Regions from separate parts of the Homo sapiens genome. Here region 2 is linked to region 1. Evidence: promoter capture Hi-C in 16 types of primary human blood cells and fetal thymus (Javierre and others, 2016). All regions are on one chromosome and are shown on one strand. Each heading gives the region's core, a stretch centred on a gene start or on the middle of the fragment in contact. The rest is flanking DNA. Distances are from core to core; before and after follow the strand shown. Region 1 holds the start of ENTPD3-AS1 (ENTPD3, EIF1B and MYRIP antisense RNA 1). Region 2 has its middle 3.1 kb from the start of SEC22C.

Evidence for each region. Contacts are between HindIII fragments. The CHiCAGO score rates a contact against its expected background, and 5 or more counts as called.
Region 2: a fragment that was not itself captured here is called in contact with the fragment with the promoter of ENTPD3-AS1 in region 1 in 4 of 17 cell types (total B cells, naive B cells, naive CD8 T cells and 1 more); the score reaches 9.4 in total B cells.

Annotation. Positions count from the first base shown.
Region 1 is chr3:40,452,058-40,456,085 of GRCh38, forward strand. It overlaps ENTPD3-AS1 (ENTPD3, EIF1B and MYRIP antisense RNA 1), which reads right to left and starts at 1,251. Exons shown (of 4, transcript NR_040100.1): 1 at 1,065-1,251. RefSeq lists enhancers at 985-1,054, 1,075-1,144. The HindIII fragment of the contact is 7,917 bases long and covers 57-4,028 here.
Region 2 is chr3:42,583,024-42,587,165 of GRCh38, forward strand. It overlaps a transcript of SEC22C not described here and a transcript of SS18L2 not described here. Among named protein-coding and RNA genes, the nearest start is that of SEC22C, 3.1 kb to the left of the region's middle. The HindIII fragment of the contact is 5,967 bases long and covers 1-4,142 here.

The DNA.
Region 1 (4,028 bases), core at 1-2,500:
ACCTAAGTCACTTTAACACAGAGATACAGCTTCAATTTACAAGCAGCCAGTTGCAAAGCTTCAGAAAAGGTTTTCAAAAAAACAGGACAATGGGTCCACTCTGCAGTCTAGGCCTGATGTTGACCCTTTTTCACAGTCCTGCTTTGTTTTGAGGCTATTAAAACCCTGCTTCATTTAAGTTCCATCTAAACTTTACACTTCCTCAAAATCCTGTAACTTTATATTTTCCTTCCCCTGGTAAAATGTCCCATGGTGTCTCTGGTGTGCAATCTCCCTCATTAAAAAAGATCGATAGACCTGGTTTTGCTGACTACAGGTTTGTCCCTGGTGGTCTTAGGCTGACTGGGCTTGAACAGTCTTGCTCAGCTTCAGGGTTCCTAAGATTGCAAATTTCAAAAACTGATACAACAAACATTTTTTCACTCCTAAATACAAATGCACCTGTCCACGTTGCCAGGTAGTTATGCACATGGCTACCATGTCAATTTGGTCATAACTAGGGTTAGGTCACTTCTCTGGAAGGTTAGTTATTAAGAACAAGAAAGAAAGTCAGGGTTCTGCACAGCTTTTGGTTTGATTCTTGTACTGACTTATGTTTCTTTTTCTTTGGGGCTACAGGTAAATATTTTGTCTGCTAAACTGACGCCCCCATCGCCAGTGTCTGAACAAACAAAACTGAGACATATCTAGTCAGCTGAAGCTGACAAATACAGGGGCCAATCTGGTTACAGGCAGGCAGTCCTGGCCTCGTGACACCGCAGAGACTGTGGGACAAGTGGACGTGCTCCTACTGTCCCTCGCATCCCCCATCTGGGCCGCGGGACTAGTGCCCTCAGGTCTATGACCCACTGCAAGAACCCAAAGCTCGACGCCCGCCCAGCCCTTCACATCCGTCCCTTGCAACAAGCAAGAGAAGAGGGGCGCGGCTTCAGGGGACGGGCGACGGTTTACAGGACAGCTCGTACACAGTACCAGCTGACATCCCCTAAGCCTGAGTGTCTAGGCCCCTGCCTCCACATTTAAGAGCCGACTGCGCCCCTTGGTGATTGGACGTCCGGACGCACCTTGAGTAGAGGCCAAGCAAACTATCGAGCCCGTCCAAAACGCCATATTTGTAACTGACGTCATCCTCATGTTGCCTTTCCTCTCTGTGATTGAGGAACCAATCAGTTGGGTGTAGCAGACGGGGCGTGGCTCTTCAGGTAGAGGCCGAAGGGGCTGAGAGCGGTCCCAGGCGGCCATCTTGATTCCTGGCATCACTCTCAACGTGCCCTCCCTCTCCGTGATTGGACGAGCAGGGCGGGCCTTCCGGAGGCACACAGCCGACCAACCAGAGATCTGCGCGTGCTCGATCTGGTCATCTGTTTTCTGACATCTGGAGCCACTAGCAGTTATCCTGTTCATTCCTGGGCGCCTGCGACCTTCCGAAGGAAACAAGACTTGCTTGGGGAAAGTTGCCTTGCCAGTATAGTGGAGCTTGGTAGAAACTTAAAAACTGCCTGGGGCTGCCTGGGATGGGGATCTCGAGATGCTTGTGGGGAGCACATTTTAGGAAACAGGGGGCTCAAGCTGCATGAAATGCTGCGGGAAATAGGAATGAGAGACGCAGAATGGTCGGAGAAAAAAGCTAGGAAGGTGTTTGGGAGTAAGATTTTGGAGTGCCTTGAATGCCAGACTAGGGAGTTTGGACTATATCCTGTAAGATAGGGGATAAAAATCAACTTTAAACAGGAGTGATATAACAAGATAATGTACTTTAGAAAATAATTCTGTAACTGTAGGGGGAGTCCCAAAGTGTTTCTCAAATTGTGTTCGGGGAAGTTCAAAGTGTGTTTGAGAGCTTGTTTTTATATGCAGATTCTTGCCCCTCACCAGACCTGCAAATAAAGTTCTCTGGTTGTACAGCCAGGAAACTGCATTAAAAAAAAACTTTTTAGGTTAACATACATTTGGTGAGAAAACGCATAAACCATATGGATAGGGCTCTGAATTTTCACAAGCAAACACTTCAGCCAGGCGGGGTGGCCCGTGCCCCTAATCCCAGCTACTCGGGAGGCTTAGGCAGGAGAATGGCTTGAGGCCAGGAGTACCAGATCAGCCTGGGCAACATAGCAAGACCCGTCTCTAAAAAAATTTAAAACAAAAATAATAACACACTCCCGTAGTTAACACCAGATGAAGAAACAACATGGCCAGCAGCTCAGAAGCTCCCCTTTTCCCCTTTAGCCACTGCTGCCTGCACCAAAGGTAAATATGATCATTACTTATAAGAACTGTAGATTAGTTTTGCCTGTTTTGAATTTGATATAAATAAAAGCATACAGGATATATTGTGTCAGCTTATTTGTTAGTGTTATTTATGAAATTCATCCGCATTGTTCCATGTAGTTGCTGTAGACTCCGTTGCTATAGATTGTTATCACAATTTATCCAGTCTCTTGTTTATGGGCCTTTGGGTAATTTCCAGTTTGGAGATAGTAGCAAAAAAAATGCTAAAATGAACATTCTTCTTCATTCATATCTTTTGCTTTGTAAATTATAAAGCAAGACAACAAGACCTAAAGACTGATTCATTCACTACCTATTTATTGAGCCCCTTACCAGACTAAGGTGAGAAAATAAAACAGAAAAGACAGCAAAGGTCCTGCCCTCATGGAACTTATTCTAACTGGAACGAAACAACACCTACGTGGGCAGCAAAACAAGTCAAACAATTGCAATTGTGATAACTCTGAGGGAAACAAGGTGAGCTAGAAAAAGAAGGGTGGGGACTTAACCTTTTTTTATGTGGTAGCCTGGTTAACTCTCAGAAAAATATCTAGGAAAAAATACAAGAGATAAGTTGGCACTGCTACACGATGAGTATTAACAATGGGTAGACCATTCCTGGCAAGAGAGACACCATGTATAAAGGTCATGGAGGAGGAGAGAGCTTGGCCCATTCAAGACCAGTGTGGCTTCAACACAATGAAGGAGGGATGGCATAAGGTGTATCTGGGTATTAAAGCATATGATACAAGGCCAGAGTAAGAAGTTGAGATTTTATTCCAAATATTATGAAAAGCAATCGAACTGTTAAAAACAGGAAATAATGTGATCTGATTTACTTACTTAAAAGATCCCTCTAACTGCTGAGCAGAGAACAGATTAAAGACAGAATTTAGGAGGCTGCTAGAGCAGTCTCAGGGAAGATATGCTGGCATAGAGCTTAGAGGAAAGGCTTGAAATACATCTGGGAACTGTCATGGCAAAGATCATCACCTTAATCAAGTGATAAAAGGTAACACCTCTCTGCACTGGCCTGGGTAAAAATCTAAAGAATAAAATACCACCACAATATTGGGAACCCATGTGTGGTGGTGTATTCCTGTAGTCCCAACTATTCTGGAGGCTGAAGCAGAACTGCTTGAGCCCATGAGTTCAAGGCTGTAGCAGGCTACAATCAGACCTGTGAATAGCTACTGCACTCCAGCCTGGGCAACACAGCCAGACCCCATCTCTTCGAAAAAATGTATATGTGTGTGGCCAAGCACAGTGGCTCACGTTTGTAATCCTAGCACTTCTGGGAGGCTGAGGCAAGTGAATCACAAGGTCAGGAGTTCAAGACTAGCCTGGCCAAAATGGTGAAACCCTGTCTCTACTTAAAACACAAAAATTAGCCGGGCGTGGTGGCAGGCACCTGTAATCCCAGGTACTTGGGAGGATGAGGCAGAGAACTGCTTGAACCCGGGAGGCAGAGAACTGCTTGAACCTGGGAGGCAGAGGTGGCAGTGAGCCGAGATCGCACCACTGCACTCCAGCCTGGGTGACAGAGGGAGAGTCCATCTCAAAAAAAGAAAGAAAAAAAAAAGTGTTTGTGTGTGCGTATATATATAGAGAGAGAGAGAGTGAAGAGAGAGAGAATGTATTCTGATGTGATGCACCAAGGACATAGCATTTCTACCAAAAATTCACTATCTGAATCCAATGAGGAAAACTCCAACAAACCCATGTTACAAATTTAACAGTTAAATCTAAAACTATCAGTT
Region 2 (4,142 bases), core at 1,429-3,928, 2.1 Mb after region 1:
AAAAGAAAAGAAACTCAGAGTTTAGAGAATAAAGGAGTGGAGTGAGATCCACTAGAGCGAATAGAAGGGGCAGGACCATGTAGGATTTTATGGACCATAGTGGAAAGTTTAGGACCATAGAACACTGGTCAAAATTGCATTTTATAAAACTCACTTTGGCTGCTAAAGTGCAGATCAAAATGGAGAAGTCTCAACAGAGCTATGGTGGGACTGGCCTGGGAGCCAGTGCAGTCATCTGGGCAAGAGAGAATGGAGCTGGAGTGTGGACTAGGGTGAGAGTGAAGAAAAAGAGATCTAAGAAGGCTGCAGAGAAATGTAGGAGCAAAATCAATAGGACTTGGTGATGAGTTGGATGTGAAGGGGCGATGAAGCAGCTTCAAGGATGATGCCACTGTTCAGCCTTGGATAAATGGATGGATGGTGCAGGGATTCACAGATATGGAGAACACTGGAAGAGGAGATAAGATTGATCTTGAGCTCCATCTTAGACAAGTTGAATTTGAGGCACCTTTGAGACTTGGTTAGGATTTTGCGATGATTAGTTTTAGATGTCAACCTGACTAGGTTAAGGGATACTCAGGTAGCTGGGGGAACATTACTTCTGGGTATGTCTATGAGGGTGTTCCCAGAAGATATTGGCATTTAAGTCAATGGACTGAGTAAGGAAGATCTGTCCTCATCTAATATGCGCAGGCACCACATAATAGAACAAAAAGGCAGAGGAAAGGCAAATTCTCTACTCTGGAGTTGGGACACCCCTCTTCTGCCCTTGGCATCAGAATTCCCCGTTCCCCTAATCTCCTAACTCTAGGAGATTAGGTAGTAGAGTCCGTCCATTTATTCATTTAGCAAGTATTGAGCCTTTGGACTCCAAGACTTGTACCAGTGGTTCCCCAGGTTCTCCCGGCTTGGGCCTTGGACTGGGAGATACACCATTCAGCTTCCCTGGTTCTGAGGCCAAGTCTAAGACAGGGTAGTCTTGAACTGAAGCAGTCTACCAGCCTCCCTGGTTCTCCAGCTTGTAGATGGTCTATTGTGGGACTTCTCAGCCTCCATAACTATGTGAGCCAGTTCCCCTAATAAATCCCCTCCCATATATCTATAGATATAGATCTATATTGTAGATATATAGATATCACATTGGTTCTCTCTCTCTGGAGAACCTTGACTAATACAGATGTCAACACAGCAGGTGCATATACAGGTTGCAGGTCAATGTAGAGGTCTGGGCTGAACACAGACTTTTTTTGAGGCTGAGTCTCACTCTGTGGCCTAGGTTGGAGTTTAGTGGCACAATCTCGGCCCACTGCAACCTGCGCCTCCCAGGCTCAAGTGATTCTTCTGCCTCAGCCTCCCAAGTAGCTGGGATTACAAGCATCTGCCAACACGCCCAGCTAATTTTTGTATTTTTAGTAGAGATGGGGGTTTCACCATATTGGCCAGTTTGGTCTCGAAATCCTGGCCTCAAGTGATCTGCCCGCCTTGGCCTCCCTAAGTGCTGGGATTACAGGCGTGAGCCACCACGCCTAGCCGGGACATAGACTTTTGAAAGTCAGCATCATATGGGCGGAAATCGAAGTGGGGCTTACATAGCCAGAGAAAAATTACAAAATGAAAACTGAAGAGAATTGTGATACAGTCTAAGATAGCCTCCAGGGTTCACCACCTCCTGGGATTTATACCCTTGTGTAGTCCCCTCCCACAATGAGTCTCTGATAATGAGGGTAGGTCATAACAGGCACAAAGAAGGAGAAAAACCAGGAGATTCAGGGTTGGTAAAGGCAATTGAAAACCCTGTAGCATAAGTGCTCTTCAAATATGGGGAATTGGGGCCAGGTGTGGTGGCTCACACCTATAATCCCAGCACTTTGGGAGGCCAAGGTGGGTGGATCACGAGGTCAGGGACCAGCCTGTCCAACATGGCAAAACCCCGTCTCTATTGAAAAATTACAAAAATTAGCCGGGCGTGATGGTGGACATCTGTGATCCCAGCTACTTGGGAGGCTGAGGCAGGAGAATCACTTGAACCTGGGAGGAGGAGGCTGCAGTAAGCCGAGATCGCACCATTGCACTCCAGCCTGACCTACAAGAGCGAAACTCCATCTCAAAAAACAAACAAAACAAAACAAAACAAACAAACAAATATGGGGAATTGGGCTCTCAAAACTTGTGGTGCGAGTGCTTTAGAACAGGACCTTACACTCTCTGACTGGTGCAACTGGTGTGGTTCAGGCACCATGGTAGATTGGACAACAGGGGTGAGATGTAGTACCTAAAGTCCTAGCTCTCATCTCCAATCATTGTTCACTTTGGCTCCAGGTTCACAGTCAACTCCAGAGTCTTTCTCTTCCAGTCCTCTTCAGTCCTCCACTCCTAGGGTAACACCCTGGACCACAGAAGAGCTCCACCTCTGAAGTTATAAATGCAGACACCTGATCTTTCATCTGTCCTTCTGCTATTCTCTGAATTCCTTTCATGGTTTCTCTAGCCTGCAGAAACTTCCAGTTCATTTGTCCCTCTACTTTGTTTTATTTATAAGCTCCATCGAGTCTTCATTTCCTTCCCCATCAGCTGAGAGTTCAGGGTTTATCACCTCCATCACATTCTTCCCAATATACTTATATTCCTTGCACAGTTATCTTTCTGGCATAACTAGAAGGATAGTAACACCCATCTGGCAGCACTACAATCCTGGAAGAATCCAACCTTCTGTCTTCTCTGAATCTGCTTCTTGGCTCTAAGTGCTGCTGGACAAAATCTCACAACCACACAGATCAGTGCTACATACATTGTCAACTTCAACTAGGTCCTCAACACCTTTCAGCGCTCCTATTTGCCAAGGCAGCTCTCTCTCCAGCTCTCCCCCAAAATCAACTTCCAAATATCCTGCATGCTCCCCAGATCTCCCACTCTTCAACCCCCCCTCCCCCGCTTGCTCTCCCAGGAACCTCCGTTACTGAAGAAAGAGCAACCATCAAAGTGATGTCCCTTAGCTCCAGACAACTCCTCTCCTTCCAGCTACCACCTTCTTTCCCCTCTCCCCTTTACAACCAAACCTCATGGAAAAAGTGGTCTATATGTGAACACTCCATTGCTTCACCTTCACCTTTCATTATTTCTCAGTCCCCTGCAGTTCTGATACCTGTTTCACCATATCACTGAAAATGCCCTCCTCAAAGACCTAGTCTTTATTCTTCCTTGTTCTTTTGTTGTTGTTGTTGAGACAGAGTCTCGCTCTGTCACCCAGGCTGGAGTGCAATGGCACTGAGGCTTACTGCAACCTCTGCCTGCCGGATTCAAGTGATCCTCCAGCCTCAGCCTCCCAAGTAGCTGGGACTACAGGCCTGTGCCACCATGCCTGGCTAATTTTTGTATTTTTAGTAGAGACAGGGTTTCAACATGTTAGCCAGGCTGGTCTCAAACTCCTGACCTCAAGTGATCTGCCTACCTCGGCCTCCCAAAGTGCTGGCATTACAGGTGTGAGCCACTGCACCCACCCCTTCCTTGACCTTTCAACAGCATTTGTCATTGCTGTCCTGTATGTCCTTTTCAGTCACTGTTTAAAAAAAAAAAAAAAGCCATAACCCCCACTCTCCTGGTTTTCCTCTTCCTATATCTCTAGTCTCTTTCTCCCCTCAGTCTCCATTGCAGCTTCTTTTCCTCTGCCATAAGAGAAACTATCACATTCTCCTTAGGCAGTCTTATCCACTACATAGTTCCAGTCAGTTTCTACAAGTGATGTTTCTCAAAGCTGTATCTCCAACCTAGCCTTTGTCCCTGAGTTTCAGCCCCAAATAGCCACAAGCCTCAACATCGTTTGACATCACCTCACACTGTACATTTCCACAACTGAATATATCACCTTCATTTCCATTCCAGCATCTCCCCCACTGTTCCCTGCCTACATAAGGGGCATCACCAGTTTCTCAGTTGCTTAACCCAGAACCCCAGAAGGCATCCCTAATTTCCCTTTTCTTTCCCTCCCCACTTGATCACTAAGGCCTGCCAAATCTACTTCTAATGTCTTTCAAATGCACACACTTCTTTTCTCATTGCTCCCACTATCTCTGGCCTGCATGCTTGTAGCAGCCTTGTCACTGTTCTTTTTGTTTCTCATCTGGGCGTCTTCCCTAACTTTCACC